3 separate regions of the Homo sapiens genome follow, and regions 2 and 3 are each linked to region 1. Evidence: promoter capture Hi-C in 16 types of primary human blood cells and fetal thymus (Javierre and others, 2016). All regions are on one chromosome and are shown on one strand. The core of a region is centred on a gene start or on the middle of the fragment in contact, and the rest is flanking DNA. Distances in the headings are between cores, read along the strand shown. Region 1 holds the start of IVL (involucrin). Region 2 has its middle 5.4 kb from the start of LINC01527. Region 3 has its middle 6.5 kb from the start of LCE7A.

Region 1 (2,700 bases), core at 115-2,614:
TCTAGGGGTATAGTGGAAAACATACCAGGTATACGCTGCTCTTAGCTTATTTTCCAGTGGGAAAGATAGACAATAAGCAAGTGAACAAATGCAAATAAATTACTCTAGATTGTTATAAGTGAAATTAAGTACCAATCCTTTAGATATGGTACACAGAGAAGGATCTCTGACAGACCCCAACATTGACACTGAAGCTGAAAGGCATAAAAGAACCAGAGACCTGGGGAGGGGCCGGTGGGCAGAAGGAGAGCAGGTGCCAAGCCCCCAGGTGGAGAGCTCTGGGCTCATCTCAGGAACCGAAGGCCCTCAGTGAGGTAAGAATATACCTCTCAGGGAGAGATTGACATGAATTGGGGCCCCAGAAGAAGGCAGAAGCCAGGTACCCAGGGTCTTTTAAACCACGGCAGTGAGTTTGAATGTTATTTCAAGTGTGCTGGTGCACTGTTGGCACGGGGGAGAGATGTGCTCAAATCCCCACTCTGAAAGATTTCTTAAGCTATTTCTAGAGTATGATTTACAACAGGAAATGGATGATTTGATTCTGATCTTTATACCTTCATGCATTTAAAAAAGTACTTAAGAAAGTAGTTTGGTTTGTCATTATAAAAAGCAATACTTATTTTTATATTGTGTAGATTCAATCTTGTTTCCTTGCCTAGAGTGGGCCGTGCTTTGGAGTTCTTATGAGCATGGCATTCCTGAGAACTTCTCTAACTGCAGCCTCGGGCATAGAGGCTGGGCAGCAAGTGGCAGCAGCAGAGGACTCCTAGAAGCCTTCTACTTGACTCTACTTGGCCTAAAGTCAAACTCCCTCCACCAAAGACAGAGTTTATTTCCACATAGGATGGAGTTAAAAAATATATTCTGAGAGAGGAAGGGCTTGTGGCCCAAGAGAACACCCCAGAAATACCACCCCTTCATGGGAAGTGACTCTATCTTCAAACATATAACCCAGCCTGGACATCCCCGAAAGACACATAACTTTCCATTTCATGCCCTTGAAAGTGAATCTTTTGGCCTAATAATGAGAACAAACTCATTTTGAAAGTGGAAAAATTGAGATTCAGAGCAGAAGTTTGACTAAGGTCACAAAACAGTAGGATGCCTCACTCAGCTCCCTGTGCCTAGGTCAGAAAAGCATCACAGGAATAGTTGAGCTACCAGAATCCTCTGGCCAGGCAGGAGCTGTGTGTCCCTGGGAAATGGGGCCCTAAAGGGTTTGCTGCTTAAGATGCCTGTGGTGAGTCAGGAAGGGGTTAGAGGAAGTTGACCAACTAGAGTGGTGAAACCTGTCCATCACCTTCAACCTGGAGGGAGGCCAGGCTGCAGAATGATATAAAGAGTGCCCTGACTCCTGCTCAGCTCAGCACTCCACCAAAGCCTCTGCCTCAGCCTTACTGTGAGTCTGGTAAGTGTCGGATGGTAGAACCAGGGTTGGGACTCGGGACCTCCAACAGCATACGATGTGGTGGGGGTGGGCAGCCTGGGTGGGGGTGGGCATTACTCTGGGGCTGGATTCAGCTGGACTTTCATTCTAGGGGGACTCGAGTCAGAGTACTGAGAGAAAAGTGCCTTGGCACAGAAGTGCAGAACAGAGAGTAATCATCCTATGTCCCATCTTTTCTTGTGACCATATTTTTGGATTTGTGTGTGAGAGAGAATTATGGAAGGGAGGAGGGGAATAGCATTCAACTTCTTTCCTAAACCTCTTGGGTTTTGACAGACCATCATTTTGCCTTCTTTATGGAGGGAGAGGTTCAGGGAAGAGCTTCTACCTTTTGGCTATGCTGCACAGAGGGATGGCAGAATGGGGAAACCTTTCTATTTGGAGAAACCTAGGCAGAGCTGGGACAGGAAAACTCAACTTAGAAGTATAAGACTTGGAAGAACAACCTCCAACTCTCAGCAACCTTCCAGCTCCCGCAGCCCCACCCCAGACACAAGGACTGCAGCTAAACCTCAGAAGGTCAGGAGAGAAAGCAGCCCTGGGGTTGAATAGGCCAACCTGCTGGCTTTACAGGGGGGAAAACCAAATCCCAGGAGACTAAGTGACATGCCCAGAAACACACAGCATTCCAATGGGAGATTCAGGCCTAGAGCATGTCCTGTGGCTCCAGTCTGGAGGTCACACCATGACCTCTTAGGTCCTCTCTGGCACGGCCTATTGGTTTTCTAGGACTTGGTGTTCTCCAAGAGACATTTCATTCCCTAAGGCCTTACTCCTCACTGTGACATAATCCCAGAACGCATCTCTGCTCCTTGGTCAGTGAAGCGATGAGGGTGGACACAAGGACTAGACAAGAGCAGACAGTGAGCTGGCACCTGACCCACCCTTGCAGAACAGCCCTGCAGACAGATCTCCTTGTTGGCTCTCACCTGGGAACAAGGAGGCTCCTAGGAGGACCTTTCTCTGCCCCTCCACATTTCCACCCTTCTCTCTCTGCTGCTTTTGGGAAATGATAGTCCAGAGGTGGTAGAACAGTACCCTGCCCAAGGGAAGAGGGGATGCTAAAAAACCAGATACTTCTGCAGATTCCCAAGGTTTCATCTATTTCCTTTGCCTTCAGCCTGTGCATCAGACCTCTTCTGTCTTTCAGGTTGACAGTAGCTTCTAAGATGTCCCAGCAACACACACTGCCAGTGACCCTCTCCCCTGCCCTCAGTCAGGAGCTCCTCAAGACTGTTCCTCCTCCAGTCAAT
Region 2 (2,700 bases), core at 121-2,620, 46 kb after region 1:
CCCAGATGCACACACACACTCACACTGTAATTCCCACTGTTGAGCATGGCCCCAGAACATCAAATCCAGCTCTACTCCTGTGACCTAGTGACTTGTCCTCTCCCCTTTCTCCAGGCCTCTGCCACATTCCAGCAAGGATGTCTCACCATCTGGCTTGAGTGAAATTTCCACAGAACAGAGGTCTCAGGATGAAGAGTGTGATGCTGAGGGCTTCGAAGGGGGTATGCCTTCATCAGAGAAGTGCTTGTATACATATTCTCTTTATTCTGCTCCAAACAAAGAAATTCCATGGAAGATGGCATGGTAGGGTGCAGGAAAGAGAGTACCTACACATCTTGGAGTGTGACAGACCTGGGCTCAAATCTCCTCTTCCTTACTTTTGTATTAATCTTGGCCAACTTAACCTTTCTAAGCTAAAAAATGAGAATAACTTGAACTTCAAGTCCTAAATTTGAAGCTCAGAGTTTCTGACAGCAGTGGTGTTCTATCTTTCCCTCATGCCCTCCTCCACAAGCCCCAGGGAAAGGGAACCCCACTGCTAGATGCACATCCTGCTGTGTATGCCCAGGTTGTGGGGAGCAGGGGGACCCTAGCTGGTAATGGATTTCTGCAATGAAGCTTCAGCACTCGGCAGTCAGTCATCCTTTGAAGGAAGCCCTGCCTGTGGGTGCGGCCAGCTTCAGTGTGCTCCACCATCTCCTGCAGGTTTGTACGTGTGCCCTGGCAATCTGACATTCCTGGGAGAATCACAGATGCCTGGCACTGAAGACGCCCTGGGCGTGGCTTATACCCACCTATGCTGAAACTCCTCCCAGTCACTTTGGGGCTATCAGTTCGGCATGCCATGTTTAAGTGTGTTATTGTTGTCTGGGGGTCTTGTTCATACGCAGAGAACAGTCATTGTTTTACCCCAGACTCCTGACCCTTGATATTTGGTCCTCTGTCTTCTGGAATTTTTATGTCAACTCTCAGGAATTAGACTATGCAGCTTCCATCTCACTCTTAAATAAAATAAAAAGGGAACCATTTTCCCTGTCCTGGGCTCTCCAGGCAGCCCTTTGGCTCAAGTCTCCTCTGCCACCAAGGGCCGATGATGTGTGTGACATGAATGCTCATCTTCGGTGGACTTAGGAGACACTGGAGCTCTGAATTAGGAGCACTGGACAGAGTATATGAGAGCTGAGTATTGTCTTAGTTATTCTGCTGTTCTTCTGCGGGACCCAGGACAAGTCATTCCCTTTTCCCAGTGTCCTCACCTGTACATGACAATGTTGGACTTCCTGAACTATTTCTAAGCTTCTTTCAGTTCTGACTCTGTATGAGGTGACTCACGCTAATCTTTGTGTTTAATCTCTTCGCCTAATGATTCATCATCATGGAAAACCCTAAAAGAGGTAAGTCTGGGGTTGAAGGCCACCAGATGCTTCTGCATGGAGGCGTAGAGAAAGCTTAGCTAAAACATGCATCTGTATTTGAAGAGCACTCGGGCTTAGGACTAACTTTCCTCCCTCCAGGGAACCAACACATCCACCTTCCGGGGCCAGGTGTGTGTGTGTGTGTGTATGTGTGTTTAAGCAGCAATTTACTACTATAAGCAAGACACTATACTGGGATCTTAATACTTATCTTATATAATATACATTACTACCATATAAGTAAAAAATTTAATTTTGCAAATGAGGAAAGCAAGAACCAAAGAGGTTATAAACTTTGCCAGCTGAAAGAGCTGAGAGTCAAATATAGATCATTCTTGGCACAGAAAGACAAATACCACATGATCTACTTATGTGTGGGATCTAGAAAGTCAAACTCATGGAAGCAGAAAGTAGAAGGGTGGTTACCAGAGGCTGGGCATTGGGGAAGGACTGGGGAGATATTGGTCAAAGCAATATAAAATTTCAGTTTGATAGGAGGAATAAGTTCAAGAGATCTATCCTACAAGTGATGACTACAGTTAATAATGTATTATACACTTGAAAATCACTAAGAGTAGATTGTGTGTTCTCCCCACAAAAAAAAAAATCGTATGTGAAGGTACACATATATTAATTAGCTCAATTTAGCCATTCCACAATTTATGCATATTTCAAAACATTCTGTTGTACACAATAAAGATATACCACATTTGTCAATTAAAAATAAATTAAATAAAATTCCTTTAAAAATTTAAAAAGAAGAAAAAAGTCAACATTAGAGAAACTGGAAGGATATATAAAACCGCTTTGTACTATTTTGCAATTTTTCTGTAAACCTAAAATTATTCCAAAATAAAAATTTGTTAAAAATAACAAACAAATATAGATCTGTCTTTCATATAGGCCCACCCTTTTTTTTTATTATACTTTAAGTTTTAGGGTACATGTGCACATTGTGCAGGCTAGTTACATATGTATACATGTGCCGTGCTGGTGCGCTGCACCCACTAACTCGTCATCTAGCATTAGGTATATCTCCCAATGCTATCCCTCCCCCCTCCCCCCACCCCACCACAGTCCCCAGAGTGTGATATTCCCCTTCCTGTGTCCATGTGATCTCATTGTTCAATTCCCACCTATGAGTGAGAATATGCGGTGTTTGGTTTTTTGTTCTTGCGATAGTTTACTGAGAATGATGATTTCCAATTTCATCCATGTCCCTACAAAGGACATGAACTCATCATTTTTTATGGCTGCATAGTATTCCATGTTGTATATGTGCCAC
Region 3 (2,700 bases), core at 138-2,637, 55 kb before region 1:
TTCTGTGAACCTCCAACTCTTGTTTCTAAAATGAAGGCCTATAACCAAGCCCACTGAAATATTTTATTTGTAATTAACTCAATCATTCAATGAACCCCTAGTAAGTACCAGCTATATGTAAAGAACTGCTTTATTTAGGTATTATAGTGATTACCTCTTTATGATCTGATCTTATGCATTTTTTGGAGAAAAATTTCTTTTTTTTATTATACTTTAAGTTCTAGGGTACATGTGTACAACGTGCAGGTTTGTTACATATGTATACATGTGCCATGTTGGTGTGCTGCACCCATTAACTCGTCATTTACATTAGGTATACCTCCTAATGCTATCCCTCCCCACTCCCCCAACCCCATGACAGGCCCCAGTGTGTGGTGTTCCCCACCCTGTGTCCAAGTGTTCTCATAGTTCAACTCCCACCTATGAGTGAGAACATGCGGTGTTTGGTTTTCTGTTCTTGTGATAGTTTGCTCAGAATGATGGTTTCCAGCTTCATCCATGTCCCCACAAAGGACATGGACTCATCCTTTTTTATGGCTGCATAGTTTTCCATGGTGTATATGTACCACATTTTCTTAATCCAGTCTATTATTGATGGACATTTGGGTTGGTTCCAAGTCCTTGCTATTGTGAATAGTGCCGCAATAAACATACGTGTGCATGTGTCTTTACAGCAGCATGACTTATAATCCTTTGGGTATATACCCAGTAATGGGATGGCTGGGTCAAATGGTATTTCTAGTTCTAGATCCTTGAGGAATTGCCACACGGTCTTCCACAATGGTTGAACTAGTTTACAGTCTCACCAACTGTGTAAAAGTGTTCCTATTTTATTGGAGAAAAATTTCTAACAAAGATAACAATGTGGAAAGAAATGGACTGCCTTGTGAGGTAATGAGTTCTCCAACTAAAAGCATTTTCATTTAGGCCAGGAAGCTCACCACTAGGCATGTGGGTGAGGAGATACAAGCTCCTGGTGGAAAACCACACTACATTCTTTCTAAGGCCTCTGCAAGGCTAAATAAGTTTGTGAGTTTACTATGCTTCCTGCATCTTTCAATTTCCTAGGAAGATCCCTAGAGGAGCTCAGAGGAAGGTGGTAGGACTGTGAAAATGTTGTTACCAGAATGTTTCATGGGCTGGCTATAGTTCTACGGTTCTACCAGAACATGCCAGGACAGTGGCTACCAAACTAGGTAGAATAACCTGGGAAATAGTTAACCAATGTAAATCATAAAGACCCACTCCTTGGAGATTATGATTCAGTAGGTCTTAGTTAGAGACCAGGTGTCTGCTTCTTTTATTTTTTATTCATTTATTTTATTATTATTATTATTATTATTTTGACAGAATCTCGCTTTGTCACCAGGCGGCTGGAGTGCAGTGGCACTATCTCGGCTCACTTCAATCTCCACCTCCTGGGTTCAAGCCATTCTCCTGCCTCAGCCTCCCGAGTAGCTGGGATTACAGGCGCGTACCACCACACCCAGCTAATTTTTGTATTTTTAGTAGTGATGGGGTTTCTCCATGTTGGCCAGGATAGTTTCAATCTCCTGACCTTGTGATTTCCCTGCCTTGGCCAACCAAAGTGTTTGGATTACAGGCGTGAGACACCACACCTGGCCGGGATCTGCATTTTAAAAGTACTTCCAAGATGGCTCATGTTCCCAACCAGGTTTGCAATTCTTGATCTACAACAGCACTGAGAGTCCAGGACAGCTTCCTTGCTTTGCGCAGTTCTTTGCCGGGCTTGCCTTATTGCTCTGCACCCTTACAGACTGTGTGATATGCACTTACTTTTAACTGTCCAGTATTCAGTTTTTCTAGATGCAATAATAACAAACTCTCAAGGTTGTTAAGAAGAGAAAATAAAGCATGTGAAATGCAATACAATGCATTACAAAGCATGTGAAATGTAATACAACGTATTACAAAGCATGTGAAATGCAATGCATGGAGGGATGTGAGGGGCTTCCCTTGTGTGACCACCATCACTAAAAGAATGAATGGTTTAGAACTACAGGCTCACAGAGTGATGGAACACGGGGTCTTGGTGTCACAGGTGAAGGTGTGGGCTCCAGAAAGATTGAGCAACTTGCCTAATGCTTCTTAATGTGTCCCCCCATGCCCTTAAGAGTTTTGTAGTGGCTTTCCTAGGTAAAAACACTACTGAAAACAGGCTTTGAGGTGAAGGGTGGTGATAAGAGGGATTCATCTTCCCTACCTTTCTCTTAAGATGTGTTAATTGCAGGATGAGAGATACAGTCCAGCTGGGTTATCTCCTTTAGGCACAGTGGAGAAAATGATGGAGAGATCAAAGGCATGGAGTTGTGATGAGCCAGAGATATCATCAGAACAACTGTTTCCAAGAATAGGAGGGCGGTGGAGCCAAAGATCTGTTCTGCTCACCTTAGTTGGTAGAATTCATCTTTAACATCAGCAAAAAGACATGAAGTTTCACAGGAGTCAGAAAGCTCTGTCATTGTAGGCAGTGGAGTCTCCTTTCTTAGAAGATTCAGAAACATATTCTTGGGATTTTAGAAATATATTCTTATTTAAAAATATATTCTTGGGTCTGGAGGAAAATGATAGGCAAGATGATCACTCTTCATCCCTTCCTATTTTAGGATTAACAGGCATCACTTGATGGTGACATGTGTAAATACAGGCTCCTGATAAGGTGTTTTAGCTATTGCTCCA

Evidence for each region. The method cuts DNA at HindIII sites, captures the fragments that hold promoters and counts their contacts. A CHiCAGO score of 5 or more calls a contact.
Region 2: a fragment that was not itself captured here is called in contact with the fragment with the promoter of IVL in region 1 in 7 of 17 cell types (naive CD8 T cells, naive CD4 T cells, total CD8 T cells and 4 more); the score reaches 7.6 in naive CD8 T cells.
Region 3: a fragment that was not itself captured here is called in contact with the fragment with the promoter of IVL in region 1 in 2 of 17 cell types (naive CD8 T cells and naive CD4 T cells); the score reaches 6.4 in naive CD8 T cells.

Annotation. Positions count from the first base shown.
Region 1 is chr1:152,907,182-152,909,881 of GRCh38, forward strand. IVL (involucrin) reads left to right here and starts at 1,365. Exons shown (of 2, transcript NM_005547.4): 1 at 1,365-1,408; 2 at 2,598-2,700. The coding sequence starts at 2,617. RefSeq lists promoters at 1-2,605, 466-1,405, 1,125-1,359, enhancers at 1-132, 1-47, 966-1,245, a cis regulatory region at 715-1,211 and silencers at 980-1,032, 1,405-2,605. The HindIII fragment of the contact is 6,184 bases long and covers 1-2,700 here.
Region 2 is chr1:152,953,251-152,955,950 of GRCh38, forward strand. No RefSeq gene overlaps it. Among named protein-coding and RNA genes, the nearest start is that of LINC01527, 5.4 kb to the left of the region's middle. The HindIII fragment of the contact is 152 bases long and covers 1,295-1,446 here.
Region 3 is chr1:152,852,112-152,854,811 of GRCh38, forward strand. No RefSeq gene overlaps it. Among named protein-coding and RNA genes, the nearest start is that of LCE7A, 6.5 kb to the right of the region's middle. The HindIII fragment of the contact is 6,660 bases long and covers 1-2,700 here.